Linked DNA regions of Homo sapiens: regions 2, 3, 4, 5, 6 and 7 are each linked to region 1. Evidence: promoter capture Hi-C in 16 types of primary human blood cells and fetal thymus (Javierre and others, 2016). All regions are on one chromosome and are shown on one strand. The core of a region is centred on a gene start or on the middle of the fragment in contact, and the rest is flanking DNA. Distances in the headings are between cores, read along the strand shown.

Region 1 (4,235 bases), core at 1,194-3,693:
CTCCCAAAGTGTTGGGATTACAGGCATGAGCAACCGTGCCAGGCCATTGCTAACCTTTTCTTTGGAAACTTGTGTGCTATAGCTAAACTGAAGGAATCTGGGATGATTTGATGATGGTCCTTACCCAGGTCTGGACTGGTAGGTCTAGGTCCTAGTTTTGGCTCTGGCCAGCTTTGGGCAAGGCGGTTTCACTCTCCTAAGTCCCACATGTCTCCTGTATAAAATGTTGAGGGGGGTGTACTAGTTAATTTCCAAAGCCCTTTCCAGGTCTCACATTCCTTATGTCTATGATTCTGTGATTAAGTTCCTGGAAGTTTAAGTACTGATAAAAGTGCCATTAAGTTCTGTATACTCAGCACTAGCAGCTGTCTGTTACCTAAGATACCTGGGCCTAGGAGTTATAGGGTGGGGGCTGGGGGCAGGGTGGGTGGATGAGAAAGGCTCCTTGTCTGACAACTGTGTGTATTGACTGTAGACAACAGAGGACTGCCCAGCACTGTGCAGTGTAACTGAGTATCCTCTGATTTCTGGGCTGTGATATACTAAGACTGACCATCAAAGACTGTTTCCCAACAAGAGAACCTTGTGCAGTAAGTTCCTCAGGCAAGAAGCGAGATAATTGGGACAGGATTGAATAGATCTCAGGCAGAGAAACTTGGGGGACAGATCAATGTAGGTAATGAACTGGTTGACCCAAGGCCTCTCTGTCTATCATTTTTTGACCTCAGGTCAGAGCGATAGAAAGGGGGAAAACTACCGACACAGCTCCTGCCATGAAGTCCTGGAGAAGAATAAGTGACTGTTTGTCCCGCATGGGTTAGTCATTCACCTGCCTGAAGGCAAAGGGCTGGGAGTCTGGAGTCCATGACCTGCTGGGACATACTTTGGGCTGCATTTTTTCCCCCTTCTAATGTCTCAGCTCTCAGGGATCTGCTTTTCCTGGTGCCAAGGAGTATGGATGAAATTTTGTCCCTCCTCCATGCACCCCTATAAAACAAATATGATGAGAAATTAATATTTTCCAAATGGTGACCTAACCTTTGTTCATTAATTGAGCTCCTATTGCATTCCAGGTACTGTTAGAGGCCAGCAAGATACCTAGATGATTGAGACAGAGTCCTCGCCCTCCATGAAGTGACTGTTCATTTTAAAACCCTAAAGCTGGGTTCTTAGAGGCTACTGCAACAGCAACAACTCCCGAGTGAGTGCTTATCATGTGCCAGGCTCTGGTTACAGGCTTTAACTCTCTCAGTGGAAACAGCCTGAGTGCTGGCTTGGCTACCCCATGTCTGTGAGACTGTGGGCAAGTCATTTACTTTCCCTTTGAGTTTCAATTTCTAAAACTGTAATATGGGGATAATATATGTAAAACAGCTAAGAAGTATATACTTTTAATGACTCTTTTTAGTGTCAATGGAGGATTTGTGAGCAAATGCATATAAAACACAAGGCAAACAGGAGGTATTTAGTAAGTGGCCACGTGATTATTGAGAGACTATGGGCTTCTTCCTGTTCCTCCAGAGCAAGACTGACAGGTGTCCTATTACCCTTGCATCTTCAGAGCCTAGAGCACAGCCCTGAAAACAGCAGGCGCTCACCACTTTTTATGATCAAAGGCAGTCTCTACAGGGAAAGTCAAATCATTATGGGTATTTATGAATTACAAAATCCATAAAGTTAAACCAGGAGAAATGGACAAAAACACACTCATTGTAGAGGTCTTTAATGATCCCTTGGCTCATGGCAGAGCAGCTAGACAAAAAACAAACAAACAAACAAACATGCAAAGATTCAGAAGGCCTGAAAAAATAATGAATACAAAGAAGATAAATCGATACAGTATTCTATCTTCACATTCGGAAGACAAAAACACCTTTCAAAAAACCATGGGACATTGGCAAAAATAACCACAGATAATCCTCAATAAATCTTGCCAGGAGGCAGTACAGATGACATTGAATTCAGTGAGACTACAAATTAAAGACAAAAAGGCGAAGTATAAATTACTTGTGTAAGAACTCTCTCAACTCTTGGGTCCAAGAAGAAAGCAAAAGGGAAATTGTATGATAGCAATAAATGTGCCATTACCCAGAGTCACACAGCTAACAGTGACACAGCTGAGGCTGCTAGAACCTGGGTCTACTGTCGTCCAGCCACGAACTGGCTTGAGATCCCGGATAAGTCTCTCTGAGCCTCGGTTTCCCCTTCTGTCAAGTAGCCTCGAAGGTCCCCGGCGCTCGGTTCGGTGGCGAGTTTGAGGAGTGTGGGGGAGGGGAGGGGAGGGAGCGTGCCCGAGACGCGGGAGCCGCGACCGCTTTCTGCGAAGTCGGGGAGGGTGCGGGCGTTGAGAGGCTGCAGCAGAGGGCGCTGGGTCGCCAGCCTGGGCCGCGTCTCCCATTGGTCGGGGCTGGGGCGCTGGGCTGGAGAGTTGGTGGAAAGTGACAAGTTGAGCGAGAGAGGGAGCGTGGAGAGCTGGAGCAGCCGCCACCGCCGCCGCCGAGGGAGCCCCGGGACGGCAGCCCCTGGGCGCAGGGTGCGCTGTTCTCGGAGTCCGACCCAGGGCGACTCACGCCCACTGGTGCGACCCGGACAGCCTGGGACTGACCCGCCGGCCCAGGCGAGGCTGCAGCCAGAGGGCTGGGAAGGGATCGCGCTCGCGGCATCCAGAGGCGGCCAGGCGGAGGCGAGGGAGCAGGTTAGAGGGACAAAGAGCTTTGCAGACGTCCCCGGCGTCCTGCGAGCGCCAGCGGCCGGGACGAGGCGGCCGGGAGCCCGGGAAGAGCCCGTGGATGTTCTGCGCGCGGCCTGGGAGCCGCCGCCGCCGCCGCCTCAGCGAGAGGAGGAATGCACCGGCCGCGCCGCCGCGGGACGCGCCCGCCGCTCCTGGCGCTGCTGGCCGCGCTGCTGCTGGCCGCACGCGGGGCTGCTGCCCAAGGTAAGAGGCGCCCGCCGGCCCCCGCCCGCCCAGACCCCCTGACCCGTGGCCACCCTTCCGCCGTCCAGCCGGGCGCGGGACACGCAGGAAGCGCCGCGCTGGCTCCGGGGCGCGTCCGGCCACCCGCCACGGGGCTCGCCGGCGCCGCCAGGCCAGGGTTTGCCCCGGAGCCCCGCCAGGCCAGGGTTTGCCCCGGAGCCCCGCGGCGGGCCGGGGCGCGCCCAGGGACTCGTTCCTCGGTGCGCAGCAGCGATTGTCAGCGCTGACAGGAAGCGTGGAGGGGTTTGAGGGTCCTGGGGGTGATCGGGGCACTTCTGTGCAGGGCGTCCCCCCTTGTCTCCCTGGACCTCTAGCGCGCCCCAGCCGGTGTTCAGGCAAGTCTATCCTGCCCCCAAGTTGCGAGCCGGCCCGGAAGGCGCGGTCCAGGAGGGAGTTTGGATTTTCAGTGGTGCTCGCCAGAGCCCAGGCGGCTCGCGGATCGACGCAAACAAAAGCCCTGTCCTCCTGGGGCTCCGGCGGCCTCGCATCGCCACCGCCCCCGGCCCTCCGGCCCTCCCGAGAGTCATCATAGAGGCCAAAACTTGTGCGCCGCTGCAGCCGCTGCCACTTTGTGCAAAATGTGCTGTCAGAGGCGGCCTGCGGCTCCAAAGTGCTTTGGGTGTGCACGCGCGCGCGCGCGCGTGTGTGTGTGCGTGTTACAAACAAGAGGGGGAAAAGCCATCTAATGCATATTTGATTTTGGTAATCTCTAAAGACAATCGCAACAGTTAGAGAAAGACTTCACCGCAAGCCGGAGCGTCTTAGTTCGCTGCGGGAAGCTGGGGTCCTTGCTGCGTCTGAGCCGGTACACAATGAGAGGGAAGAGCCCGGCTGAGCCTGTGGAGACAACCGATTCATTCTTTGGAGGTTGGAGGGGGAAAGTTGATTAAAGTCTCCGGGGTCTCGGGCCTCACTTTTAACATGCATCCCTTGAGGGGGTGAGGAGCCTTTGGATTCTGCCCTCCCCCACTCCCAGCCCTAAACCTGAGCGGATAAATAGATCTCTGCTCTTTTATCATGCATCTTTCATTTTTAAGTTAGCACTGTGTTTAGGAAAAGAAAAAGTTCTGCGCTACTTAGCAGTTGAGAGGAAAAAGATGTATTCACTACATAGACTACGAATGCAGAATTAGTTTTTACTAAAAGTTAGCTGACTTTCTTGGTAGAAAACACACTCTGGAAGGAAGTTGTGTGAAATTTTGATTTCTTAGAGATGGTTTTTGGAAGCTAGAGTAGCATTTTCTGAGGATGATTTCTGAAA
Region 2 (4,235 bases), core at 881-3,380, 480 kb after region 1:
CCTGAGGTCAGGAGTTTGAAACCAGCCTGGCCAACATGGCAAAACCCTGTCTCTATTAAAAATACAAAAAATTAGCCAGGCGCAGTGGTGGGCACCTGTAATCCTAGCTACTCAGGAGGCTGAAGCAGGAGAATCGCTTGAACCTGGGAGGCGGAGGTTGCAGTGAGCCGAGATCATGCCATTGCACTCCAGCCTGGGTGACAGAGTGAGACTCTGTCTCAAAAAAAAAAAAAAAAAAAAATCACCAGTCATACAAATAAGCAGAAAAATATGACCCACAACCAAAAGAAATTACATCAATACAAATAGATCCATAAGTGATAGAGAGGATAGAATTAACAGATACAGACTTTAAAGCAGCTACTATACATCTTATAAAATATACTGAATTATCTAAAGAAAAACATGAATATGATGAAAGAAATGGAAGATATACCAGTGGAATATCTAGAGATAAAAATAAATCAAATATTTAAAAATATATATACTTAATGGGAAGAACAGCAAGTTAGACACTGCAGAAGAAATGACCCATGAACTTGAAAGTGTAGCAATATAATCTCTTTAAAAAAAGATAGAAAAAAAGACTGAAAAGAAACGAAAGAGCCTCAGTGAGCTGTGGGACAATATCAAGTGGTAGAAGATACATATAAATGGTGTTCCAGAGGAAGGGAGAGAAAAAATATTTGAAGAAATAATTATGACTGAAAATTTTCCCAATTTGATGAAGTCTGCAAATTCACAGACCAAGAAGTTCAATGAATCCCAAGAAACAGAAATATAAAGAAGCCATACCAAAGCACATCATAATCAAATTGTTGAAACTCAGAAATGAAGAGAAAAATCTTAAAAGTAGCAAAGGAGAAAAAGAAACCCCACATGTTACACATAAAGGAGCAACGATAAGAATAGCCAAAAACTTCATGTCAGAAGCCTTGCAAGTCAAAATATAATAAATGACAACTTCAGAGTGCTTGAAAGAAATTATTAAACATAGAATTTTATAACCAGTGAAAAGCTCTCTCTAAAATGAAGGTAAAATAAAAACGTTTTTTGACCAATAAATCCAACCACATAGTTGAAATGAACACATTTCTTGAAAGGCAACATCTACCAAGCCTCACTTAAAAAGAAATGAACAACCTGAGTAATCCTGTATCTAATAAAGGAATTTATAGTTAAAAGCCTTCACACAAAGACAACTTTAAACCCAGATGGCTTCACTGGAGAATTTTCCCACACATTTAAGGAAAACATGAATATACACAAACTCAGAAAAAAGAAGGAAACACTTCCCAGCACGTTACAGGGTCAGCATTACCTCAATAACAAAACCAAAGACAGTATACGAAAACTACAAATCAAGAACTGGAAATACCATTTGGCCCAGCCATCCCATTACCGGGTATATACCCAAAGGATTATAAATCATGCTGCTATAAAGACACATGCACACATATGTTTAGTGTGGCACTATTCACAATAGCCAAGACTTGGAACCAAGCCAAATGTCCAACAATGATAGACTGGATTAAGAAAATGTGGCACATATACACCATGGAATACTATGCAGCCATAAAAAATGATGAGTTCATGTCCTTTGTAGGGACATGGATGAAGCTGGAAACCATCATTCTCAGCAAACTATTGCAAGGACAAAAAACCAAACACCATATGTTCTCACTCATAGGTGGGAATTGAACAATGAGAACACATGGACACAGGAAGGGGAACATCACACACCAAGGCCTGTCGTGGGGTGGGGGGAGGGGGGAGGTATAGCATTAGGAGATACACCTAATGTTAAATGACGAGTTAATGGGTGCAGCACACCAACATGGCACATGTATACATATGTAACCAACCTGCAGGTTGTGCACATGTACCCTAAAACTTAAAGTATAATAAAAAATAAATAAATCAATAAATAGGGAATCCTTCCCCGCCCCCCCAAAAAAAGAAAACTACAGATAAATATGCCTCACAGACACAGATGCAAAAATTTTAGTATATTTAATCTAAATATATATATAACATATATAATATAGTTTTAAAATGTGTTAGTTTTTTTGAATGTTAAATCAAGGTTACATTCCTGATATAAACTATACTTGGTCAGGATTAATTATGATAAATAATTGTAAATAATTATGATAATTCATCATGACTATATGGAGTTTATACTAGAAATGTAACATTGGTTTAACATTTGAAAATTTCGAATAATGTAAATTAGTATAAGAAAGAAGAACTATATGATCCTCTCAATAGATGAAAAGAAATTCTGTATCCATTTCTGATTTAAAAAAGAGAAAACTCAGAACAGGGAGTGAATTTGGCATGTTCAAGTGAAGTATCCAGGTTCTCACATTGGGACTGACTAGGCAATCAGTTCAACCCATGGAGAGCAAAGAAAAGCAGGGTGAGGTGAGAGCCCACCCAGGAGCAGCATGACGCCAACAAAATCCCCACCCCAAGACAAGGGAGGCAGTGAGTGAGTGTGTGACCCTGCCCAGGAAACCATGCTTCTCCCACGGATCTTTGCAACTCGTGGATCAGGAGATCCCCTCATGAGCCCCTGCTACCAGGGCCTTGGGTCCAATATACAGAGCTGTGTGTAATCTTAGCAGAGACTCAGGTGTTTTACATAATCTGGTCCTAAAATCCTCCAGTGAGGCACCAGATCCACCCATACATTCCCCTAGGAAGGGGGCTGAATCCAGAGAGCCAAGCAGCACCATCCTGAGGGTCCCACTTTCACAGCACCTCACAAGTTGGGGCCCGCTAGCTTGGAGCTCCAGCCAACCAGCAGCAATAGGCTGAGTCTGCTTAAGACAGAAGGGAGTTCCTGGGGGAAAATGTGGTCACCATTTCTGCAGTTCTGTTGACTCAGCATTCCAGCCTGCCAGCTCTGGAGAGTCCAGGCATTCCAGACGAGGAGGGGTCTCCCCACCAACACAACACACCTGCTTTGCCAGACTGTGCCCAGACTGCTTCTTTAAGCGAGATCCCAGTCCATTCCTTTTCACTACCTCCTGTAGGGGGCCTTCAGTCACTCTAGCCAGGCTTATATGGACAGAACTCTGATCTCACCCTGGGATGGAGCTCCTGAGGGGAGGGGTGGCCACCATCTCTGTGGTTCAGTTGACTCAGTTGTTCCAGCCTGCTGGCTCTGGAGAGGCCAGGTGGTCTGGACGAGGAAGGGTCCCCCTCAATGCAGCACATCTTCTCTACTAAAAAGCAGCCAGATGGCTTCTATAAGTGGGTCCTTGATCCTGTTCCTCCTGACTGGGAGAGACCTTCCAATAGGGGTCTCCAGTCACCTCCTACAGGAGTGTTTGGGACAGCAATAGGTCAGTATCCCTCTAGGATGGAGCTTCCAGAGAAAGGAACAGGCTGCCATCTTTGCTGTTTTGCAGCCCGCACTGGTGATACTTCCAAGTACAGGAAAAGCAGAGGCAACTAGGTTCTGGAGTGGACCCCCAGCAAACCATAGCAGCCCTACATTTGCTAACAGTCAGTGGCCTACCTGTTAAAAGAAAAACAAACAAACAGAAAACAACAACAACAACAAAGACCCCACAAAAACCTCATTCAAAGGTCAGCAACCTCAAAGATTAAAGGTAGATGAGCCCATAAAGATGAGAAAAAGTCAATACAAAAATGCTGAAAACTCAAAAAGCCAGCATGTCTATTCTCCTCCAAATGACTGCAACACCTTTCCAGCAAGGGTACAGAACTGGGCTGAGGCTGAGATGGTTGAATTGACAGAAGTAGGCTTCAGAAGGTGGGTTATAACAAACTTCACTGAGCTAAAGGAACAGGTTGTAAACCAACGCAAAGAAGCTGAGAATCATGATAAAACAATACAGAAGATGATAACCAGAATATCCAGTTTAGAGAGGAACATAAACAACCTGATGGAGCTGAAAAACACAACTTTAGAACTTCACAACGCAATCACAAGTATCAATAGCAGAATAGATCAAGTGGAGGGTAGAATTTCAGAGCTTGAAGTCTATCTTTCTGAAATAAGATAGGCAGATAAGAATAGAGAAAAAAGAACAAAAAGGAATGAACAAAAACTCTGAGATATATGGGATTATGTAGGGACACCAAACCTACAACTGATTGGGGTAACTGAAAGAGATGAGGAGAATGGAAGCAAGTTGGAAAACATACTTCAGGATATCATCCAGGAGAATTTCCCCAACCTGGCAAGACAGGCAAATATT
Region 3 (4,235 bases), core at 881-3,380, 460 kb after region 1:
CAAGTTTGTGGAAAAATGCCTGGAAATGCAGTTATTTAAGGGACTGCTTTATAGTTTTCATTTAACACCTTATAACAATCTTTGCTCTCCATTAGGACATACTAATATTAGCACAGGGAGGGGAAAGTAGCACCCAGGAGTATTAGAAAAGAGCTGTTTTTCCCCTCTTTGAAAATAGCCAGATTCTCTGTAAAAACTAAACTAATCTCAATTCTAATACTTGTATTCTGTCCCCATTATAAGAAATAAGGGTTTTTTACTAGAATTTGGCATTGAAGTTCAAGAAAAATGTTTATTGTTTCTTATAGAATGAGAAATTGACAGGTATAACGCTTTGCTTAGAGTTCTTTTTTAATGTTAGTCATGAAAGGCAGATGTCTTAAACCTGTATTTTTCTTTTTATAATATACATGTGGGTCCATATTTACATTTATCATTGAAATATGATTTGAACATTTTCTTTTTCGTTATTTGTATTCATTATTGGTGGAATCAGTATATTGGATACAATTGTTAAAAATGCATGTTACAATTTGCAAGTCAGTTTAATATCTTGTGACAAGATATTATGTGAACAGTCCATATAGCAGTACAATAATTTTAAAAAGAAAATTTACAAACTGCCCATCGTCTGATTTTTATTTATATTTTCAGACCAATTAAAACAACCTCATTTAGTGATTACTACCAGACATGGTCCAGAATAGCTACATCAAAAGCCACAGAATACTACAGAACTCCATGTAAGGTGAACTATCCTTATCCTATGTCCTTTTGGTATATGTTAATCTGTTAACATTTATCTTGGTTTCAAAGACTAATTGACACACATCTGCTATGTAAGAGTGATAAACTTCTCTGTAGGCTCTATATACTATTCATTCAACAACTATTACTTTAGTTCTTTTTTTCAAAAAAAAATAATTTTAACTTTTTGTCTTGGAGACAGAGTCTAACTCTGTCATCCAGGCTGGAGTGCAGTGGCACAATAATAGCTAACTGCAGCCTCAAACTCCTGAACTCAAGCGATCTTCCTGCTTCAGCCTCCTGAGTAGCTAGGATTATAGGCAAAAGCCACTATGCATGGCTAATTTTTTATTTTTACTTTTTTTTTTTTTCGAGATGGAGTCTGGCTCTGTTGCCCAGGCTGGAGTGCAGTGACGCAATCTCAGCTCACTACAAGCTCCGCCTCCCAGGTTCACGCCATTCTCCTGCCTCAGCCTCTCGAGTAGCTGGGACTACAGGTGTCTGCCACCACGCCCAGCTAATTTTTTGTATTTTTAATAGAGACGGGGTTTCAGTGTGTTAGCCAGGATGGTCTTGATCTCCTGACCTCGTGATCCGCCTGCCTCAGCCTCCCAAAGTGCTGGGATTACAGGCGTGAGCCACCACACCCGGCCTTATTTTTACTTTTTAGAGATGGGGTCTCACTATGTTGTCCAGGCTGGTTTGGAACTCCTGGCCTAAAGCAATCCTCCCGCCTCAGCCTCTCAAAGAAGAATACAAAGTTCTTTTGTATAGAGCCCTGGACTGAAGTCTGATTAAAAGCCAGAAAGAAAGATAGTCAATTGGAGGAATAACAGAAAAGTTCCCAATCTTATGAGGTTTACTTTACTTCCTTTACCCCAGAGAAAAGCTTTCACACCAGAGAGAACCTTTTTATTTCTCCTCTAAGCCACAAGAAATATTAGGTAGAAATTCAACAAGAAAACATAAGAACATAGGGCTGTTCAATTATATCAATCTAAAAGGAAAAATCATCTGTTACCATCATACATCAGGAGCTAAAAAGACAGATTGAGAGAGCTGGACAACTTTCCGGTTCCATTTAACTGGATCTTTAGAGTACTATTTCATTATCTGGATGAAAGTAGGTTGTCCAGTCTGCATACACTTACTGAAATACGACTTTGCTTCAGCCATCCTTCTAAAATGGTGCATTCTGCAGTAGCAGAGACTTCTGAATTCCCAGATGCAGTGATTACGTTTTAGTCCTCTTCTTACTTGCACTCCCATTAGCTGTGCTCTCCTTGATTTACATGATACCATACATCCATGGCTTTTCATCTCCCTTCCTAAGCACACTGCTGCCTCTTCCCTTGGCAATATCTTCTTCATTCAGTCCTCTCTACTTACTCTCTCTGAAAGACCTCTTCCACTACCATGGTTTTCATTTGCTTACAGTCCAGCGATTCCTAAAGCTGCATCTCTAGCCAGATCCCTCTTCTGAATTTTCCATGCATATTTATAACTGTGCAGGGGACATCTCACCTATGTGTATTATAGGCATCTCATATTCAAGATATCTCAAAGTGAATTCATCATCTTGCCCCCAAATCTATCTTTCTTCCTTTATTCCCTCTCTTGGTTAGTGGTAGATCACTAATTTTACATTTTCTTACCAAAGCCAGAATCTTAGATGTTTCCTACATCTCTTTATCTCTCTCATTAAGCCTTGTTGATTTTTATCTGCTGCAACATTATGAATGCTTCCACTCTACTACACCCCCATGACCATTGCCTTAATTTGAAGTCTCTTTATATTTCATCTCATCATTATGATAGTTTCCTATAGTGAAAAATAGTATCAAGTTTTAAGGTACAAATGAGGGCAAAAAATAGTACTAAGCTTAATAAATATCCTTAAAAGGTAAATTAGATCAATAACTTTTAAGAAATCACATGTTCTTTCAGGAGGTTGGCTATTAATTATTTTGTGATTATATATCACCATCCTCACTCATAGGTCAAAACAATTTAAGGTACATCAAGATATACAATCTTTAGCAGCTCTATCAGTATAAAATATTGATTATTTTTGATACCAGAGTACCTGAATGGTTAATTCAGGTCAAAGATTTGTTGTTGAGTGCTGCCTAGTCAATTCAGCAAACACATCTGCTGTGTGTACCTACTATGTATGAGGCACTGAGCAGCTCATATAGGCTGCAGGGGCAATAACCCTTAATTACACAAACACTGTGTTGAGAGACATTAATTGGCACACTCTAGGGAACCACTCAGAGTCAAACTCCTTCCACCAAAAAACAGATTGTTACAGGAGGGTGCTTTCTAGAATAACATGTAAATATATAGGGCCACTTGGAAACTCCAAACTGCTAGAGGAAAAAAAAATAGAAGCATGTGCCAAAACTTAAGGAGATTTGGGAATAATTGTCTTGCAATAAAGAATAATTAAAAAATGGAAGGAAATAATAAGGCACCACTGACCACAGTTTCTTCTTCAAAAAGAGTTTGGCCCCAAAATGTTTAATTTTGTTGTTTCTACATCTTTCACTAACCTAGTATGTGATTCATCCCTGTTTGTAAAGGTAATAACTGGCCATTGTTATCTCTAGCCCAGATGAATTTCTGAGACTTTGAATCTAGCACTTGGTGCATGATTTCACAATCACCCTGCCTCTTCTTCTTCTAGGGAATTGTTATAAGAATGTTTCAAGAGTTTCCTTGAATAATAACCAGCACTTAATTTAAAAAAATTAAATGTAAACTTTACATGTGCTGCTGGCCATTTTATCTTTTGATAGTTCAGCTGGATGAGATCCAACACTATCTTTTTTTAATGGCCTAATTTCCTGGCAATAATAAAGATGAAGCTTTTAGATTATAGAATGCTTCTTCAACAACTCAGAAATAAAAGAGAAACTTCTAATAACTTCATTTTCTACAGTTACATTCTTAGCATTAGAAAGATTATTAAACTCTTGTGCATATTTTTAAGAGCTTTATCTTTTATGAGTAGTGGTAAGTAGTTAAATTTTGATTTGGGGTATTAACTCTTTTCCCTATCTTGTGCCACAAATCTATACATAGTCGTTGGCATCATCATAATAGTAAGTTTATTCTTGTATAATGCAGTTTATGAAGTATGCTCCTATATATTTTTAGCCATCTCAATCTATCATTCTTTTATTCAATTATTCAACCAACATTATTAAGCACCTAATATATGTCGTGCACGGTGGTATATCAACCCTACGTGCCAGGCATTATTATTATTATTACTTTGTTTGAAGATGAGAAAACTAAGACAGAAAAGCTAAGTAATTTACCTAAGGTTACACATGTGAGGGAGAATATCATATGTTGGTAAAGAATGTACATCCTGGAGTCAGATTTACCAGAGTTTCATCCTGGGTCTGCCATTTACTGGCTGTGTGACTTTGGTTAAGTTTCTTAACCTCTCTGTGTCCCAGTTTTCTCATCCATAAAAT
Region 4 (4,235 bases), core at 645-3,144, 420 kb after region 1:
GGGTTTACGTTTTAACAGCAGGTAGAAATGCAGCCACAATAGTTAACAAAAACAAAAATAACAGCCGGACAAAAATATTCTCACAACTATTGAGAGTAGCAATAATTTACTGAAGGCCGGAGAGCTCACTTAGTAGAACATGAGATACTTGTGAGGCAGAGTAGCTTAGTGGCTAAAAGTATGGACTCAGGTTTGCATCCTGGCTCTGTTGCATTCCAGCTGTGCAACCTTGGGCAAATCATCCAGTGTCTCTGTGCCTTGGTTTTCCTCATCTGTAAATTAGAATCTTAAGAGTACCTACTGTACAGAGTTATTAGTGAGGATGAAATTAATTCCCATAGAGCACTTAGAACAGCATGCTCAGCACACGGAAAGTGCAGGTGTTGGCTATTACTTACTCTATGCCAGGTGTGACTGAGTCATTGGCAGGGATTATATCTTTTAATCCTCATAATGATCCTGCAAAGTAAGTATTACTATTGGCCGCAAATTACAGGTGAGAACATTGTAGGCACAGGGAAGCTAAGTAACTTCTTCAAGACTATCTTTACGGGTTAATAAGACACAGAACAGAACCCAGGTCTGCCTTGAAGGCACATTCTATTTATCAACAGACTTACTAATAAATTAACGCAGTGGAAGAACTGAAGATGGGGATTTATTTTCCCAGTTGAGTTGGTTTGTCTAACTCACAACCAAACACAACAAAGCTGATGAACAAGGCAGAGAAAGACAACGCTCAGGAGTGAGAAGTGACAAGAAGATTATGACAGCAATAATATCATGTATGTGAAAAGTTTACTAAAACTGACATTTGTTGTAATAAATGGAAGGTGATCCCATGCAGAGAAAATATTTTCAGATGGGCCTCTCCTTATAAATTTCCAATTTTGAGTGACTCAGATGGCTGAACAGCTGATGCTATTAGTTTTCAGCTCCTGCTGCTATAATATTAATTGTAGGAGGCAAACCTATCCAGTTGCTACACAGATGCTAGATGCTAGGTACACACACACACACACACACACACACACACACGCACACATGCACACACGCACACATGCATGCACAGGATAAGATATGCTATGACTGCGCCAAGGCACTCCAGCCTAAGCAACAGAGGAAAACTCTCTAAAAAACAAAAAGATAGAAAAAATACAAGATGCTGGCCAGCCAGTGAGTATATCTGTGATCTTGTTTAGTTAGCATCTCCAAACACAACAGTACCAAACCCTCACATTGGCAGGAAGCTTTTTATTTCTCAAAAAATTCATTCCCAAAATATTTCTGGAAACCTTAACCTGTTTGTCTCCTCAGCCCCTCCGGGTGTGGGACCTTTATAAGTGTCTTTCCCTTCCTTTTTGGCGTCCTGGGGATTTTGCTTATAAAAGGTGCCTTGGCTGAAGCTCTGCAGCCCCTTCTGCTCTGGTGGCTCTTGCTCTCAGGGGTGCTTCTGATTCATTGTCTACTCTGTCACTGTCCTTCAGACTTTAGCCTCCTATGTGTCATGGAGCTGGCTGAGCTTCTCTACATCACCCAGCTTTTCACATCTCTGCAACCCTCTTCCTTTGCTTATGCCTAGTTCTTTCATGGAAGGTCACTCTCCTGGCCCCAAAACTTTCTATTCTGCTAAGTTCAATTCAATCAGAATATACTGATACCACCTCTGAGCCAGGTGCTTGGTGCTGGGAATGCAGCGATGAATAAACAGGTCTCCATGGCCTTAAGAAATTATATTCTAGTGAGTGAGAAAACCCCATAAACAAATAGTTTCAAAATAATGTGGTGATAATATACAAAGGTGAACCCAGGTCAAATGAGAACACAACCCATTCTGGCAGTTCAGGATGGCTCCAAGGAGGCATTTATCTCTTTCAGGATGTGCTAACAGTTTTTAATTAGATTTAAAAAGAGGAAGAAAGGTCAGGGAGAAAAGATGATGAGCCTAGGCAAGATGGGTACATACAGGAAAAAGATAATGCAGTTTAATGGAGCGGGTACCTCAAGTATGAAGCAGAGTGAGTGTCAATAAAAGTAGGCATAAATAGGAAAATATTATGGAATGCTCTGCTTTCCATGTTAAGAAACTTAGATTTAATTCTGTAGTGTGTGGTTTATCAAGTAAAAAAAAAAAGTTCATTTGCATACACATACAAATGTAGAGACGGACACATATAAAGTTGCCTGTGATTTCAGCCATCCCACCTACATCCCTGGAAGTAAATCCACATGTTGAAGATGGGATACGTTGGGATGAAGGGGAATCCCTCAAAGTATTTTAAGTAGAGAATTTCATGATCACATGTTAGTTTAAATACATTACTATCACGTTTCATGACAAGCAAGTCTGGAGTCAGGGAGTACAATACAAAGATGTTCTGTATCTAGGCAAGAGATGACAAGGTTATGAAATTGAGCATTATTGGTAAGGCTTGAGAAGAAGCTAAGACAACAGCATGTCTTGTGAGTCATGAGGAAGAGGAGGAGTCATGAGGACGAGGAGGAGTCAGAGATGACTTCAAATTTCCAACTGGGACAGAAGCTTGGTTGAGAGAAACAGTAATGAGTTGATTTTTGGACATTTGAGTTTGAAATGTGTTTGGGACAAGACAGCTGGGTGACAACCAGGCATTTGGATATAAATTAGTAGGTATACTAGTCAGAAGTCCCAAGAAGAGGTCAAAGCTAGTAATATAGGTTTGTTGTGGGGGGAGTCATATGAATATCTTCCAACTTGATTTTCATTGTGCTAAAGTATCATATAAATGCCATCTTCTAAAAATTCACAACAAAAAATGTTTTTCTTTACCTTAATTTTCTTTTACCTTACTTACTTTTATCTTTCTTTTACTTTAACAAAATTTTCCCTAGAATGAAATTCTAAACAAAAGATGGAGGATTCTTATTGTATGACATGATGACTACAGTTAATAAAAATATGTTGTATCTTTGAAAATAGATAAGAATAGATTTTAGGTTTCCTCAACATATGAGGTAATGCTTATGTTAATTAGCTCAATTTAGCCGTTCCATAACATATACATATTTCAAAATATCATGTTTTCCATGATAAATAAATAAATATATTTTTTAAATACAAAAGATTCTGAATTCATTATCACAATAATCCATTAGGGTGGGAGAAAGGATTGTGGGACCACAGTGATATGGACAAACCTAGTTACGATCTCCAAATTGGGCCTATTCCCTTCTCACTGAAGTAGCCCTTTACTCACTTTCACCTGATATTTCCAATCCTATGCAAGCCCATGTTGAAATCTGATGGGCTGGAAAGAAGGGCCAAAATATTCAATCCCAGATCCTGTTGATGTTTTCACAGGAAAAAAATCCTTTCTATTTAGTTTTAGGAAACATAGAATAATAGCATTTTATTGTGTCAGCATTTTAGTACAGTGAATATGTTGTTGGTGATTTCTAAGCTACCATACCTGGAGGTGAAATTTACTGTGGGATCCTTCCAAGTGGTCCCCCCCAACAATTCATTCTTCGTAGAGCAGCCAGAGTAATCAAGTAAATATAAATCAGAGCATGCTCTCCCTCTCCCTCTCCCTCTCCCTCTCCCTCTCCCTCTCCCTCTCCCTCTCCCTCTCTCCACGGTCTCCTTCCACGGTCTCCCTCTGATGCCAAGCCAAAGCTGGACTGTACTGCTGCCATCTCGGCTCACTGCAACCTCCCTGCCTGATTCTCCTGCCTCAGCCTGCCGAGTGCCTGCGATTGCAGGCGCGCGCCGCCACGCCTGACTGGTTTTCGTATTTTTTTGGTGGAGACGGGGTTTCGCTGTGTTGGCCGGGCTGGTCTCCAGCTCCTAACCGCGAGTGATCCGCCAGCCTCGGCCTCCCGAGGTGCCGGGATTGCAGACGGAGTCTCGTTCACTCAGTGCTCAATGGTGCCCAGGCTGGAGTGCAGTGGCGTGATCTCGGCTCGCTACAACCACCTCCCAGCCGCCTGCCTTGGCCTCCCAAAGAGCCGAGATTGCAGCCTCTGCCCGGCCGCCACCCCGTCTGGGAAGTGAGGAGCGTCTCTGCTTGGCCGCCCATCGTCTGGGATGTGAGGAGCCCCTCTGCCTGGCTGCCCAGTCTGGAAAGTGAGGAGCGTCTCTGCCCGGCCGCCATCCCATCTAGGAAGCGAGGAGCGCCTTTTCCCCGCCGCCATCCCATCTAGGAAGTGAGGAGCGCCTCTTCCCGGCCGCCATCCCATCTAGGAAGTGAGGAGCG
Region 5 (4,235 bases), core at 1,268-3,767, 410 kb after region 1:
TTACTACCACACATGTCAATTCCAAATCATCCTGGTGGAATGGGTATCACCGTTTTTGGCAACAAATCTCAAAAACCCTACAAAATTGACTCAAAGCAAGCATCTTTACTAGGAGACGCCAATATTCATGGACACACCGAATCTATGATTTCTGCAGAACTGTAAAATGCACAACTTTTGTAAATGTGGTATACAGGACAAACTAGACGGCCGTAGAAAAGATTTATATTCAAATGTTTTTATTAAAGTAAGGTTCTCATTTAGCAGACATCGCAACAAGTACCTTCTGTGAAGTTTCACTGTGTCTTACCAAGCAGGACAGACACTCGGCCAGAAAAAAAAAAAAAAAAAAAAAACAAGCAAACAAAAACATTGTGGGATGTGCACTCCATTGGAGTGCATGACATGGCATTGGGATTGGAACATGTGGTTTCGAGCACTGAAAGCTGCAAACCAGTGAAGAGGAAAAGAACCTTGTGATTAAATATAAAACCAAAAGTCAAATGGTGCTTTGTGTTTTAGCCTTCAGTCACCATGACTGGTCTCTCCCCCAGATGTATATATACCATAGCATTTGTCTACCTGCTGTCTTTTCTTCAGGACAGATGTTCAGGAATTATATTGATTGAATTTAGACTCTGTGCATGTTCTTATGGAAATGATGTTCAGAATCCATGAAGAAACTTCAGGCCAAATTTGAAACCCTGGAGGGAAATGAGCCATAAGGGAAGTATAACAAGCCCTGAAGCCTTTTATGTCGTTGTGCTTCTTTGGGAAGGTGTAGAGTGTGCCTTTTTGTGAATCCTCCTCTGATCATGAGGGTCTTTCCCACAGTTTCTCACAGTGTGTTTACACTGCCCTTGGAATAACACAGCGCATCAGACCATAAGAAGGCTAGATGTGGATGCTAGAATTGATTGTTGGTTGATAGTTCTCTTTGCTGGATTAGGAATGAGGCGCCAAAGGAAGCACAGCCAGGAAAATGGCCCCACAGCCTAGATCAGCATCTGTGGGAAAGGAAAAAGGGTTCCCATGGGGACAGCCCCCATAGGAGTTTTCTGGAACCAGTAACACTGAAAAATAAGTGTGTGGCTACAGATGAGCACGCCCACCCCTTGCAACTCCCTGTTTACAAGTTGTCCGAGGCATTGGAGTGCTTATGGTCAATGGGCTCTAGGGAAGTAGGAAACTCCATCATGATACAAATGTCTAGTAATTTTAAAGTTTCTTTCCCTTTTTTTCTGTGCTGGAAATGTTCACAGATTTGATTCCCGCCCCAAGAATTACAACAATGTATTCATACAGTCAGTTGGAATCCAAAGGCAATTAATTCTATTTTGCAAAATATGATGGTCTTCCTAAAAAACAAGTACTGAGTTCTCATTTCAAAAGTTACCAAGAACTGAATTCTTTAAACTAGCAAACCGAAGTAACATGACCATTTTTGCCTTAGTGGGAGGTTTCAAATGTGCAGCTCATGGCATTTACCTGCCGACCATCTTTTGCCAAGTTTAGAATTCTTATGCGTTTCAAGTTCTATATAGAAAGTAATTTTACTTTTGATTTTTCTCTTGTTAAAAAAAAACTCCTTTATTCTAAGAACAATGTCTCAAAGTCTCATTTTTACTTTAAAGGTATAAGAGACTTCTAAAGAGACTTACGGGATATAAAAGTAATTCCTGGAAATGATATTTGATGAGGAGAATGTAAGAGAATGAAAAACACATTGATGTTTTCATTTTTAAAAAATACAACTAGCATGAGAAATCAAGAAAATATGTTTACCAAAATGCATTGCAATTTTCCCAAACCTGAGTCTTCAAATAACAAACATGAACTTATAGGTACTGTGAACTAGAAGAATTGGTTATATCCAGATTTCTGGGAGATAAATTAAAACATATTTTTGTGGCATAAATAAGCTGATTCAGAAGTTACATTTCTTAACTTTAGGTAGAGGAGAATATTTGTATCCTTTTGTTGCTATGCAACTGTTTAATGATGAAGCTTCAAACCACAATTTTGTATATCATATGACAATCAATTGTTTTCCAAGAATATTTATTATTTTAAGTACACAATTTCAGTGAATCTTGAGTTTTTCTAGGAGTCCCTTAAAGGGAAATTAGCATTCCATGAGCCAGTAAAATACCTACTCTGGTAAAACATTATTATGGTTAAAAAGTAAATTCAAGTTAGTTTTTTATAAAGAACTATAACATTTATTTTAAACATTTTATAATAACTGAAAACATTAAAGTGAGCAAATGAAATTTCAAAACCACTTGTAATAATGTATTTTATAATCGCACTGTGATACTATATAACACAGTCTCTTTTGTATTAAAATAGTATTTTTTTCACAAGCTGAAAAATATCTTTTCCTTTGTTGACAATGTTTTGTAAGATGACTTTATTTTCAGATCTTTTTCTCCTTTTTTGCACAAAACTATGCTTATGGTTTGTGTCACAGAAGTGAAAATATATCTTTGCATTTTTATATCTGGTCTGTTTTTCTTGTTTCCTTTGTTTTTAACTTGATATAGATTTTCTTCAAATATATAATGGCAATTTTCAGATATCTCACCTTACCATATCTTTCCTTATTTTCACTGCATGCATTTAATCACTGTATTACTTAATGTTTGATTTGTTATTATGGGCATTTCAAATAGGCAAGCATTGAATTGTAATGACAAAAAGGCTATTTTATATTAAGGATATATGCATTTGTATTTCACACACCAGAGATGATATTAAACACTGATTATTTTATGCTGCTGTTTATTAAAAATGTTTACTATAAAATATTATTTCCTGAATATTGCTGTCATAGAGGTATTTGGGGATTTTAACATTTACATTTTATAGAAAGAGGAATCACAATTCCTATTTGCTGTTATTTCATTAAATTTTTTTTTTTCAGTAGGCTTTTAAAACAGACTTGGGCATTATTTTGCTAGCAACCATAGGTGGAGAGGGGAATCCTAATGATTTCATAACTGAATACTATCCACCTATATATGGCAAGCTTTGAATTTTTAAAATCAAAATAATATATTGAATAGTTACAACCAATGGAATATAAAAAATATTTGATTTTAAGAATATAGTTGCATCATTTTCTGCCTTAATATTTCCATATAATCTTAGATATCAAAAGTCACCTCTTTGGACTCTAAAGAAGAAGAGGCTGTGTACATCTTATCATGCCCAACTTAGCTTCCAAACATACTGATAAAATAAATGGGGCCATTTAATTGTCACAACTTATCTTTATGACCTTATTTGCCCAAAAGAAAGAGTTCCTCATCTGGCAATTAATACACATGGTCAAGGAAAATGAGTACCATAATGAAAGTTCAAAGAAGTTGTCCATATCTGCTATTTAACACAGAAAGGAATACAATAAAACCTTTAGGGCCTTATCCATCTGTTTTAGGTACAGCTCTTGTCACCACCTCAACAATCAAACTCAATAAAGCAATCCCTTCACATGGCAGTGAGATCCGTGTCAGGCTGGGTTTCTCCCTCTCACTTGAATTCCTCAGCCTGCCTTTTACCCCCATTTCCTTCTTTTATCTCCCAGCTCTTGACCCTCCTGCCATCCCCAATCCCTTCAACTCTGAGATTCCCTTAATTCCCTAATCACCAACATCTGCAAACTCCTAGCATCACCTTCCCATAATGCCTACTACAATACTGAATAAAGAGGAGCTCTTTTATCCACACATCTTCTAAGATGATTACCTATCCCAGTACTTCTCAAAGTGTGGTTCCCAGAGCAAAGAAACAGCGGCACCCTGGAACTGGTTAGAAATGCAAATTATCAAGCCCTACTTTGAAGTACTAAATCAAGGGATCCACGGGAGATGCTAGGGGTGAAGTTCATCCTCTTAATTTAGACAGCATTTTTTTTTTTTCAGCTAATAGCTCAAATGCTAAAGAGGAAATCCTGGGGATGAGACCCAGAAATTTGTGTTTTAGCAAGCCTCACATGATTCTGATATACTCTAAAGATCAAGAACTGACTTAATTTAAAGGCACGGGGGTGGGTGATCATTACATTCTTTTGTTTGTTTGTTTGTTTGTTTGAGATGGAGTCTCACTCTGTCACCCAGGCTGGAGTCCACTGGCGCCATCTCAGCTCACTGCAAGCTCAGCCTCCCGGGTTCACGCCATTCTCCTGCCTCAGCCTCCCGAGTAGCTGGGACTATAGGCACTCACCACCGCGC
Region 6 (4,235 bases), core at 475-2,974, 380 kb after region 1:
TATGGAAAACAGAATGGAAGTTCCTAAAAAAAATTAAAAATAGAATTACCATCTGATGCAGCAATCCCATTTCTGAGTATTTAATCCAAAAGAATTGAAGTCGGGGTCTCAAAATATTTGTACACCCATGTTCACTGCAGCATTATTCATGATAGCCGTTTAAGGCAGAAGCAACCCAAATGTCCATCAGTGGATGAATGGATAAAGAAAACATGGTATATGCAAACAATGGAATATTATTCAGTCATAAAAAGAAGGAAATCCTGTCACATGGTACAGCATCATGAACCTAGAGGACATTAGACTAAGTAAAATACACCAGTCACAGAAAGATAGATACTGAATGATCCACTTATATGCAGTACCTAAAATAGTCAAAATCAGAAACAGAAAGTACCATGGTGGTTGTCAGGGCTGGGGGAAGGGGGGAAATGGGGAGTTATTCAATGGGCATAGAGTTTTAGTTTTGCAGCATGAAAAAGTTCTGGAGATTGGTTGCACAACAAGAATAAATATATGTAACATTATTGAAATGTAAAATTAAAAATGGTTAAGATGGTAAATTTTACGGTATTTTTTACAATTAAACATTTTTTAATTATTAAAAAAGATTAGCCCAATTCTTTTATAGAGGAGGAAACTGAGGCCCTGAGAGTTTACAGAAACTTTTAGTGAACTTGTGTGGATTCCAGTTACTAAGATTTTTCCCAAATGCTCACAAATGAGTTGCTCTCCCTAACTTATTGTAGTTAAAACCTTTTCTGCAGGGAAAATTTTAATCAATGTATATGGCCTATTCAGCATTTTTTTTTAAAGAATTCATTTGAGAATACATAAGGCAATAGATCATCTACTTAGTATTTCCATCATCAAGTCAAGAGAGTGAATGCCTGGGCCCAGCCTGCCAACTGAAGGCCTAATTACCTCTCTCTCTCGCCTTCCAGGCATATGCCTAAATCACTGGTGCAGGCCCCTATGTGCTACCAACCTGCTTATTTTATAGTTTTCAAGTAATAAATTGGTAGTGATTCCTGTTTGTTTTCTATGGTTTTTAAATTTTTTTCAGTCAAGGTTATAATTTAAACTTGTTTAATTTCCCTTGAATTCTAAGGTTCTGTAAGATTTCTTCCCACCTTTGCCATATTTAAAACCAGAGCCTTTTCTTGTTTTAACTCAAAGTAATATCCCAGATGATGTTTCACTTTATTAAAAGTACCTCTTTAATAAGAAATCATGATTACTTTGCTTTAAGCTTCAGGGAAAGAAAGGAGTATTTTCTCCATTATATTTAATTACTAATCAAAGTATTGAATATCATTGTAAAAATAAAATAGGAATGTCAGATGTGAACTGTGATACCAAATTGTTTGATTTTTAAAAGGAAATTAATCATGTGATCTGGACTAAGTGGTTGGTTTCAAAAATCTCAAGTATTTAACTTGATGTAACTAATATGTGCATTTCACTTTTAAACAGTTATTCCAAAGTATTAAAAATCTTCAACATTCTAATTTCCAGCCGATTTTCTCTGTAATGCATTGGAGGTGTCCATTACCCTTTAAAATGACTAGTAAGAATAATGTCCATTGTTCCAAAGTGATTTTCTTAAAATAGTATGATTCCCACCAGATATTAGTCTTCATTGAAAGAGAACTTCGGACTCTTAAGGAGAATGATGAAAAACAATTATATATATAATGTTTTAGGGTAATTTTGATTAGTAATATAATTTACTAGAAGCACTGAAGGTAGACAGGCTTGCATTCCAACCCAGACTTTGCTACTTTGTAGCTTTGACAAGTTATTTTTCCTTTCTCGGTCTTAATTTCTCTGTGTGTAAAGTCAAGATAACACCAATGTGCCTTCCGGGTTAAAATGAGGAATACAAATGCTCGGACTTCAAAAAGAACCTAGGCAGATATTAGTTTTCTAATTTTTCATTTGGAAGGCTCATTGTTCTATGGAATATTTTTATAGAAGATTTTCAGAGCCAGCAGAGACTGAATCCCCTTCTGGCCAAATGCAGAGAGCTGTGTAGGGAAGGAAGCACTTTGTATGGAAGACTTACAATGGGCCTGAATGTGTTTCTGTCACTTCCAACATGACCATGTATTGTTCTCCTTGATTATTTCACTTGGCAAAAAGACACTGGGCCCCTTGTGCTTGTTAGCATATCCTCAGTGTAATCAGAAGGAGCCAAGCTTGACTGTTTAAAGGATTCAGCTTCTTGAAGTTTGTTCTCCTGCAGACCTACAGGGGGATTTGTCCCAGACCCTCGTTTACAATAGAAGACCTTCCATGAATAATCTGATAGGGCATGAATACAGAATAGACTCCTTTGTTTGCCAGGCAGGTGAGGCCCTACTTTCTCTTGTTGCTAAAAATCTGGCCTGGAAAAATGACTAGCATTGCGTTAGTACTAAATTAGCCTCATCGCTTTTGTAATCATTACCCTCAAAATGATTTCACTGAAAAACCAAGAATAACAACAGAGACTTTACCCCCCTAGGGTACTGAGAAATATGAAAATGGTTTATAATGTTAATAATAACCATAACATCCAACAACTGTATGGCAATTTTCAATTATCCAAGGTTCTTTCATGAACATTATCTCATTTGATTCTCAGGTGAACCAAATAAGATTGGTAGAGCAGGGACTATTATTCCTGCTCTACCAATCGTATTTATTCCATTGAATAAATGAGGAAATGGAGATCAGAGAGATTGTTTCTTGCTTAAGATTATCTAGCCCAAAACTTTTACCTGTGAATCCCCCTCTAGTCTAAGGGTAAAGGGTAAACATTGAGTGGTAACTGGTACTAGAATAGATTTGTTGCTTACAGCAATTCTGTGAAGTAGGTATTACTCCCATTTTACAGATGAGTTTGCTTGGAGTGGCAAAGGGCCTACTGAAGGTCACGTAGATAATGAAAAGGCATTATTCAGAGGTTTCTGACTTGGTGCCCTGTGGCAGACCGTCTTCTACTCAGGTGATTCCTTTCTGTCTATCTATAGGCATGTAGACACAATCATTACTGGTGCAACCAGCACTGACTACGACGGCCTCCAGTGATGCCTGGGTTATATATTTACCTGTAACAGTGTATAAAGCAGGGATTTTCTGTAATCCCAGCACTTTGGGAGGCCGAGGCAGGCGGATCACGAGGTCAAGAGATCGAGACCATCCTGGCCAACATGGTGAAACCCTGTCTCTACTAAAAATACAAAAATTAGCTGGGCGTGGTGGCACGTGCCTGTAGTCCCAGCTACTCAGGGGGCTGAGGCAGGTGAATCGCTTGAACCCGGGAGGCGGACGTTGCAGTGAGCCGAGATCGCACCATTGCACTCCAGCCTGGTGACAGAGCGAGACTCCGTCTCAAAAAAAAAAAAAAAAAAAAAGCAGGGATTTCAAAAGCATCACATTTGGCAAAACTTCAGTGTTATTCCCTTCCTTTCAGATCACCCTCATCCTTCCTACCTCCATGAAACAAGAGGAACCCTACTATGAGAAAATAGGGGCAAAATTCTCCAATTATTGGCAGTGAAGTGTAGTAGCTAGAATGGTGGGCAAAAAGCAAGACCGACGATGGAATCCCAGCTTTTGACTTACTAGCAGCATGTCCTTGGGCAACTTACTTAACCACTCTGTCTTCCAGCATCTTCACCTATAAAAATTAGGATAAGGATGTCATCTACCTTATAGAGTTGGTTGTGACATAAAATGAGTTTATGAAAAGCACCTGGTCCATAGTAATAATAGCTAACATGATTTTGCACCAGTAGAAAATATTTGATAAATATTAAAATTGCGTTTTGTTTTGTTTTTTTGAGACAAGGTCTCACTCTGTCACCCAGGCTGGAGTGCAGTGGCGCAATCACAGCTCACTGCAGCCTCAACCTTCTGGGCTCAGGTAATCCTTCCGCCTCAGCCTCTCAAGTAGCCAGGACTACAGACATGCACCACCATGCCTGGCTAATTTTTTTAATTTTTTGTAGAGATGGGGTTTCGCCATGTTGCCTAGGCTGGTCTCAAATTCCTAGGCTCAAGCAACCTGCCTGCCTCAGCCTCCCAAAGTGCTGGGATTACAGACATGACCCACTGCACCCAGCCTAAAATTCGTATTATTTTTATTCTACTCTGTAACCAGATTTAACCCCTCTCCAGGCTCTTCTGAGGGCTAACTCACAGGGCACAGTCCCAAAACCAGGTTTTGGTATTCCTTTTGAATAACT
Region 7 (4,235 bases), core at 1,149-3,648, 360 kb after region 1:
ATTCATAATGTTGTATAACCGCCACATCTGTCTACTTCCAAAACATTTTCATCATCCCAAAATAAAATTCCTTGCCCGCTAAGCAGTTACTTCTTATTCCTCCCTGTCCCCAGCCCCTAGCAACCACCGATCTGCTTTTCTCTAAAGACTTACCTATTTTAAATATTTCATATAAATGGGATCATACAATATGTGCCCTTTTTGTTCAGCTTATTTCACTTAGCATGTTTTTGAGGCTCTCCCACATCGTAACCTGTTTCAGTACCTCATTCATTTTTCATGGCTGAATAATATAGTCTATTGTATGTATCTACCACCTTTTGTCTATCCATTCATCTGTTGATGAACACCTGAGTTGTTCCCACCTTTGGACTATTGTGAATAGTGCTGCTCTGCACATTTGTGTACAAGTGTGTGTTTGAGTACCTGTTTTCAATTCTTTGGTTTAAGTGAGATTTTACAGTCAGGAAAGTCCCTCTGCATCCATTCTCTTCTCATTAAGAAGAGGTAGGAGACCCGGCGTGGTGGCTCACACCTGTAATCCTAGCACTTTGGGAAGCCAAGGCAGGTGGATCATCTGAGGTCAGGAGTTCAAGACCAGCCTGGCCAACATGGTGAAACCCTGTCTCTACTAAAAATACAAAAATTAGCCAGGCATGGTAGCACACGCCTCTAATCCCAGCTACTCAGGAGGCTGAGGAAGGAGAATCGCTTGAACCCAGGAGGTGGAGGTTTCAGTGAGCTGAGATCGCGCCACTGCACTCCAGCCTGCGCAATGGGAGCGAGACTCCATCTCAAAAAAAAAAAAAAAAAAAAAAAAGAGAGAGAGATAGGCATTTTAACTGAAATTATCCCCAAAAAGAATATTTTAGGACCAAATTTGTCAGTACCGATCGGTTCAGCTATGTCTGCCCATGCCCTGTATATTCTGATGAGGAAGAAAATCGCTTCCAATTAGAGGATACTCCTGGTATGGAGAAGGGTCCACTTTGGTGGGCTACCCTGGGATAGTCTCCTCATCTCTTCTAGTTCTATTGGCCTGTCAGTGGTAAGGTGGGCGCTAAACAGATAAAATAGTATATGAAACTGGAAATCTGTGGAATGGTTTGATGAAAGTACTGGGAATGGGTGGGGTTAGTGAGTGACTAACTTTCCAGGGAAGGTAGGGGCATTTGGGTCTGAAAGATGAGAACATTCACAAGGAGAACGAGGGGGTGGAGGGCATGCCAGCCCTAAGGATGAGCATGGGTCAAGCCATGTCCGCATCGAAGTGCATCCTGTGGTTTGAGACTAGCAAGATCATCCACATGACTAATACCATCAGGCTTGTAGGCTTGTCTGGCAGGGAAGGAAGCTGGAAAAACTGGCAAGAACTAGATTATGAAGTCTCTGCAGAACAGCATTTCCTTTCCTTGCTCTGCAGTGGTTCCTAGATGGGCACTCCTTTTGCTGCCGCACTGTTCCACGATCCCTCTTAGCACTCTTCAAATATCCTTCATAAGCTCCTTGCCCTGGAGAAGGAGGAGACCCTGGAGGTGGATTACAGACCACATTTGCGTTTCCCAATCCCATGGCAGAGAATATGGCAGGTTGTAGAGGCTGGCAACATGGTAACTCAATTACCTTTATGAGAAACATGAGCTCCCATCACAAAGCACCCCTGCACCTTGACATCATGGTGAGGCAGCGGCGCACGCTGGTGCCAGCCACTGTGATGAATGGCCAAATTCCATTTGCCCTTTCACAATGCACTTTTCTTCTCCATTGAATGCAGCCTTGGGCACGCTCACTGCAAGTGCCCTTGCACTTTTGCTACCTTGCCACTTGCTTCATGTTTTTAATTTGCTGAGCATGGAGTAAGGCAGGAAGACATCAATGATGAAAGAAGTGTGAGCTGGAAAAAAGCATAAAGCTGATTAATGCTGGAGGAGCATTTGTTCCCCTCCAGCCAAAGCCAGTGGGGAAAAATGGAAAAGAAAGAAATGTGTTTTTGACTTTATGTTTAAAAGAAAACCTTTTACCACCCAGAATGCACCAAAGCTTCTCCACAGCAGAAAGCCCCTCTAAGCAGTGCAAAAACTCCATTGCCAAGCCACTTGGAAAGAAGTTATAGAGTGTGGTTAGAAACACTATTTAGAGCAAATCTAGCTCTTCTACTTGCTGCGTAACTTTGGATAAGTTCTCTATGCTTTCTGAGTCTCACTTTTCTCATCTGTAGAACAGGAATAATTACATCTTTACCTTTTTTTATAAGATTGTTGTTGGGATAAAATGACTTAGTATCTGTTTTGTAAGTATATAAAACTTAGCAGTATCTGATACAGAATCAAGACTCGTTATAAGGTCTCTTTCTCGAGTAGGCTGATTTAACTAAGAGTAGTATTGAAACGCAGAACATAGTTACAGATCTAACAACATGGGATAGTGGCCTCATCTTGAGTTTCAGTTTAAATCCTAGCTCCACCACAGACTGACTTTGTGAATTTGAGCAAGTTACTTAACTTCTCTGAATTTGAGTTTCTCTCTCGTAAAATAAGGATAATAGCTCATCAGGGGCTGCTTTGAAGAAAGCACCTAACACAGTACCCAGCCCAGAGCAGCAGACACTTAATACATGTTTGGTTTTTTTCAGTGTTGTGGTTCTCAACCACATTCAAATCACCTGATAGGTTTCTTTAAGCATAGATACCTAAGCCTCATCCCCAGAGACTATGATTTAATAGGTCTAAGGTGGGGCCTGGGCATTCGTATTTCCTAAAGCTTCTCAAGGAGATTCTTTCATTCTTTTTTTTTTTTTTTTTTGAGATGGAGTCTCACTCTGTCACCCAGGCTGGAGTGAAGTGGCATGATCTTGGCTCACTGCAACCTCCACCTCCTGGGTTCAAGTGATTCTCCTACCTCAGCCCCCTGACTAGCTGGGATTACAGGCACCTGCCACCACACCCAACTAATTTTTGTATTTTTAGTAGAGATGGGGTTTCACCATGTTGACTAGGCTGGTCTTGAACTCCTGACCTCAGATGATCCACCCGTCTCGGCCTCCCAGTGTGCTGCCAAGGCGATTCTCATAAGGAGCCAAGACAGAACCACTCCCCAGCAGATAACAGTACATACTGGTTTTGGGGTTTTTTTGTGTTCTTTTTTAAAAAATCTGTCTCCCAGGAGACTGAACAGGATAGTAGGAATTCTGGGAATAGTCAAAAATTTAATACACCTGCAGTTCTAAGCCTTTGATAAGAAATGTGCAGCCAAGGAATTGCATTCCATTTTATTCTGAAAAAAAGTATTCAAAGAGTCTTTTTAAGAGTCTTGAACTGGAAAGGTGGTAAGAAGTTTAGCCTAAGCCTCACACATAAAATATGGGAACTCCCAGTAGGTTGGGGATTTATATCTGGGGGTAATTCCAGGGTTTTGTCCTCCCAAGAGATATAAATTGAAGCCTTGAGAGTTTAATGTGGGGGAGAAAGAAGTGTTCTCATAATGACACCTTAAAAATCCAGGGCTCTGCTAATGCCTAGGGATAGAAAAGCATCATCTGTAATAGCAGGGGGGTGGCATGGGGGTGTATTCTGGTCTCTGTACTTAGGTTTCCAAGATCCAAGTGTGGGTCATCAAGAACCTTCTTTCTCCCCATAGGTTTATGGTATTAGTTACCCAATAAAAGTTGGGTTAATTTTACAACCCAAGTAAAATTTAAGCCAAAAAGGCTTCAGCATTACTCTAGGATTTATGAAAGTAAACATGTGGAGTGCTTGCAGGATTGTGCAACAGTAAAATTTCAATGTCTTTATGTCAGGTATATGATATATTCATTTGTATGTGTATTTAAAGGTTAAGTTTTTAAGAGCTTTGCAACACAAACTATTTTCAGTACTAAACTGAAGATACTTCCCCCACTTTCACCTTTAAAATGATTCTTTTAATGAATGGGAGTAGAGAGAAGCAGAAAATTAGTGTCCTATCAGGTGATTTTTCCACTTGGTTTGCTCCTATACTTTGACTTTCTAGACTCCTACGCTAGACCTTCAAGCTGGGAAGTGAGCACCACAGCACTAACCGCAGTGCCTCTTACGATGTGGGAGCTTAGTAAATAACTGTCTTTTAAATAAATGTCCCTTTGGTCATTGTAAATACTTTAAGAATAGCCATATATTATCTCTACAATTTAAAAAAGCTTTTACATTATCTGATGGGATCATAATGACTTTCCCATGTAGGGCAGAGAAGTCAGTTAC

What was found. Contacts are between HindIII fragments. The CHiCAGO score rates a contact against its expected background, and 5 or more counts as called.
Region 2: a fragment that was not itself captured here is called in contact with the fragment with the promoter of ROR1 in region 1 in 3 of 17 cell types (M2 macrophages, M1 macrophages and megakaryocytes); the score reaches 6.8 in M2 macrophages.
Region 3: a fragment that was not itself captured here is called in contact with the fragment with the promoter of ROR1 in region 1 in 6 of 17 cell types (endothelial precursors, M1 macrophages, megakaryocytes and 3 more); the score reaches 10.1 in endothelial precursors.
Region 4: a contact is called between a fragment that was not itself captured here and the fragment with the promoter of ROR1 in region 1, in 1 of 17 cell types (M0 macrophages). The highest score is 5.5, in M0 macrophages.
Region 5: a contact is called between a fragment that was not itself captured here and the fragment with the promoter of ROR1 in region 1, in 1 of 17 cell types (endothelial precursors). The highest score is 5.1, in endothelial precursors.
Region 6: a contact is called between a fragment that was not itself captured here and the fragment with the promoter of ROR1 in region 1, in 3 of 17 cell types (endothelial precursors, erythroblasts and M0 macrophages). The highest score is 7.8, in endothelial precursors.
Region 7: a contact is called between a fragment that was not itself captured here and the fragment with the promoter of ROR1 in region 1, in 8 of 17 cell types (endothelial precursors, megakaryocytes, M0 macrophages and 5 more). The highest score is 14.5, in endothelial precursors.

The regions. Positions count from the first base shown.
Region 1 is chr1:63,771,574-63,775,808 of GRCh38, forward strand. ROR1 (receptor tyrosine kinase like orphan receptor 1) reads left to right here and starts at 2,444. Exons shown (of 9, transcript NM_005012.4): 1 at 2,444-2,935. The coding sequence starts at 2,845. RefSeq lists silencers at 2,511-2,560, 3,345-3,639 and an enhancer at 3,505-4,068. The HindIII fragment of the contact is 6,004 bases long and covers 1-4,235 here.
Region 2 is chr1:64,249,158-64,253,392 of GRCh38, forward strand. All of the region lies in intron 8 of UBE2U (ubiquitin conjugating enzyme E2 U), which reads left to right. Among named protein-coding and RNA genes, the nearest start is that of UBE2U, 48 kb to the left of the region's middle. The HindIII fragment of the contact is 9,203 bases long and covers 1-4,235 here.
Region 3 is chr1:64,231,907-64,236,141 of GRCh38, forward strand. It overlaps UBE2U (ubiquitin conjugating enzyme E2 U), which reads left to right. Exons shown (of 10, transcript NM_001366232.2): 7 at 655-743. Among named protein-coding and RNA genes, the nearest start is that of UBE2U, 30 kb to the left of the region's middle. The HindIII fragment of the contact is 993 bases long and covers 1,635-2,627 here.
Region 4 is chr1:64,196,867-64,201,101 of GRCh38, forward strand. No RefSeq gene overlaps it. Among named protein-coding and RNA genes, the nearest start is that of UBE2U, 4.6 kb to the right of the region's middle. RefSeq lists an enhancer at 1-190. The HindIII fragment of the contact is 1,292 bases long and covers 1,249-2,540 here.
Region 5 is chr1:64,178,691-64,182,925 of GRCh38, forward strand. ROR1 (receptor tyrosine kinase like orphan receptor 1) reads left to right here. Exons shown (of 9, transcript NM_005012.4): 9 at 1-2,808. The coding sequence ends at 165. Among named protein-coding and RNA genes, the nearest start is that of UBE2U, 23 kb to the right of the region's middle. The HindIII fragment of the contact is 1,024 bases long and covers 2,006-3,029 here.
Region 6 is chr1:64,153,326-64,157,560 of GRCh38, forward strand. The region is part of intron 7 of ROR1 (receptor tyrosine kinase like orphan receptor 1); the gene reads left to right. Among named protein-coding and RNA genes, the nearest start is that of ROR1-AS1, 43 kb to the left of the region's middle. RefSeq lists an enhancer at 1,856-2,406. The HindIII fragment of the contact is 949 bases long and covers 1,251-2,199 here.
Region 7 is chr1:64,131,965-64,136,199 of GRCh38, forward strand. The region is part of intron 4 of ROR1 (receptor tyrosine kinase like orphan receptor 1); the gene reads left to right. Among named protein-coding and RNA genes, the nearest start is that of ROR1-AS1, 22 kb to the left of the region's middle. The HindIII fragment of the contact is 720 bases long and covers 2,039-2,758 here.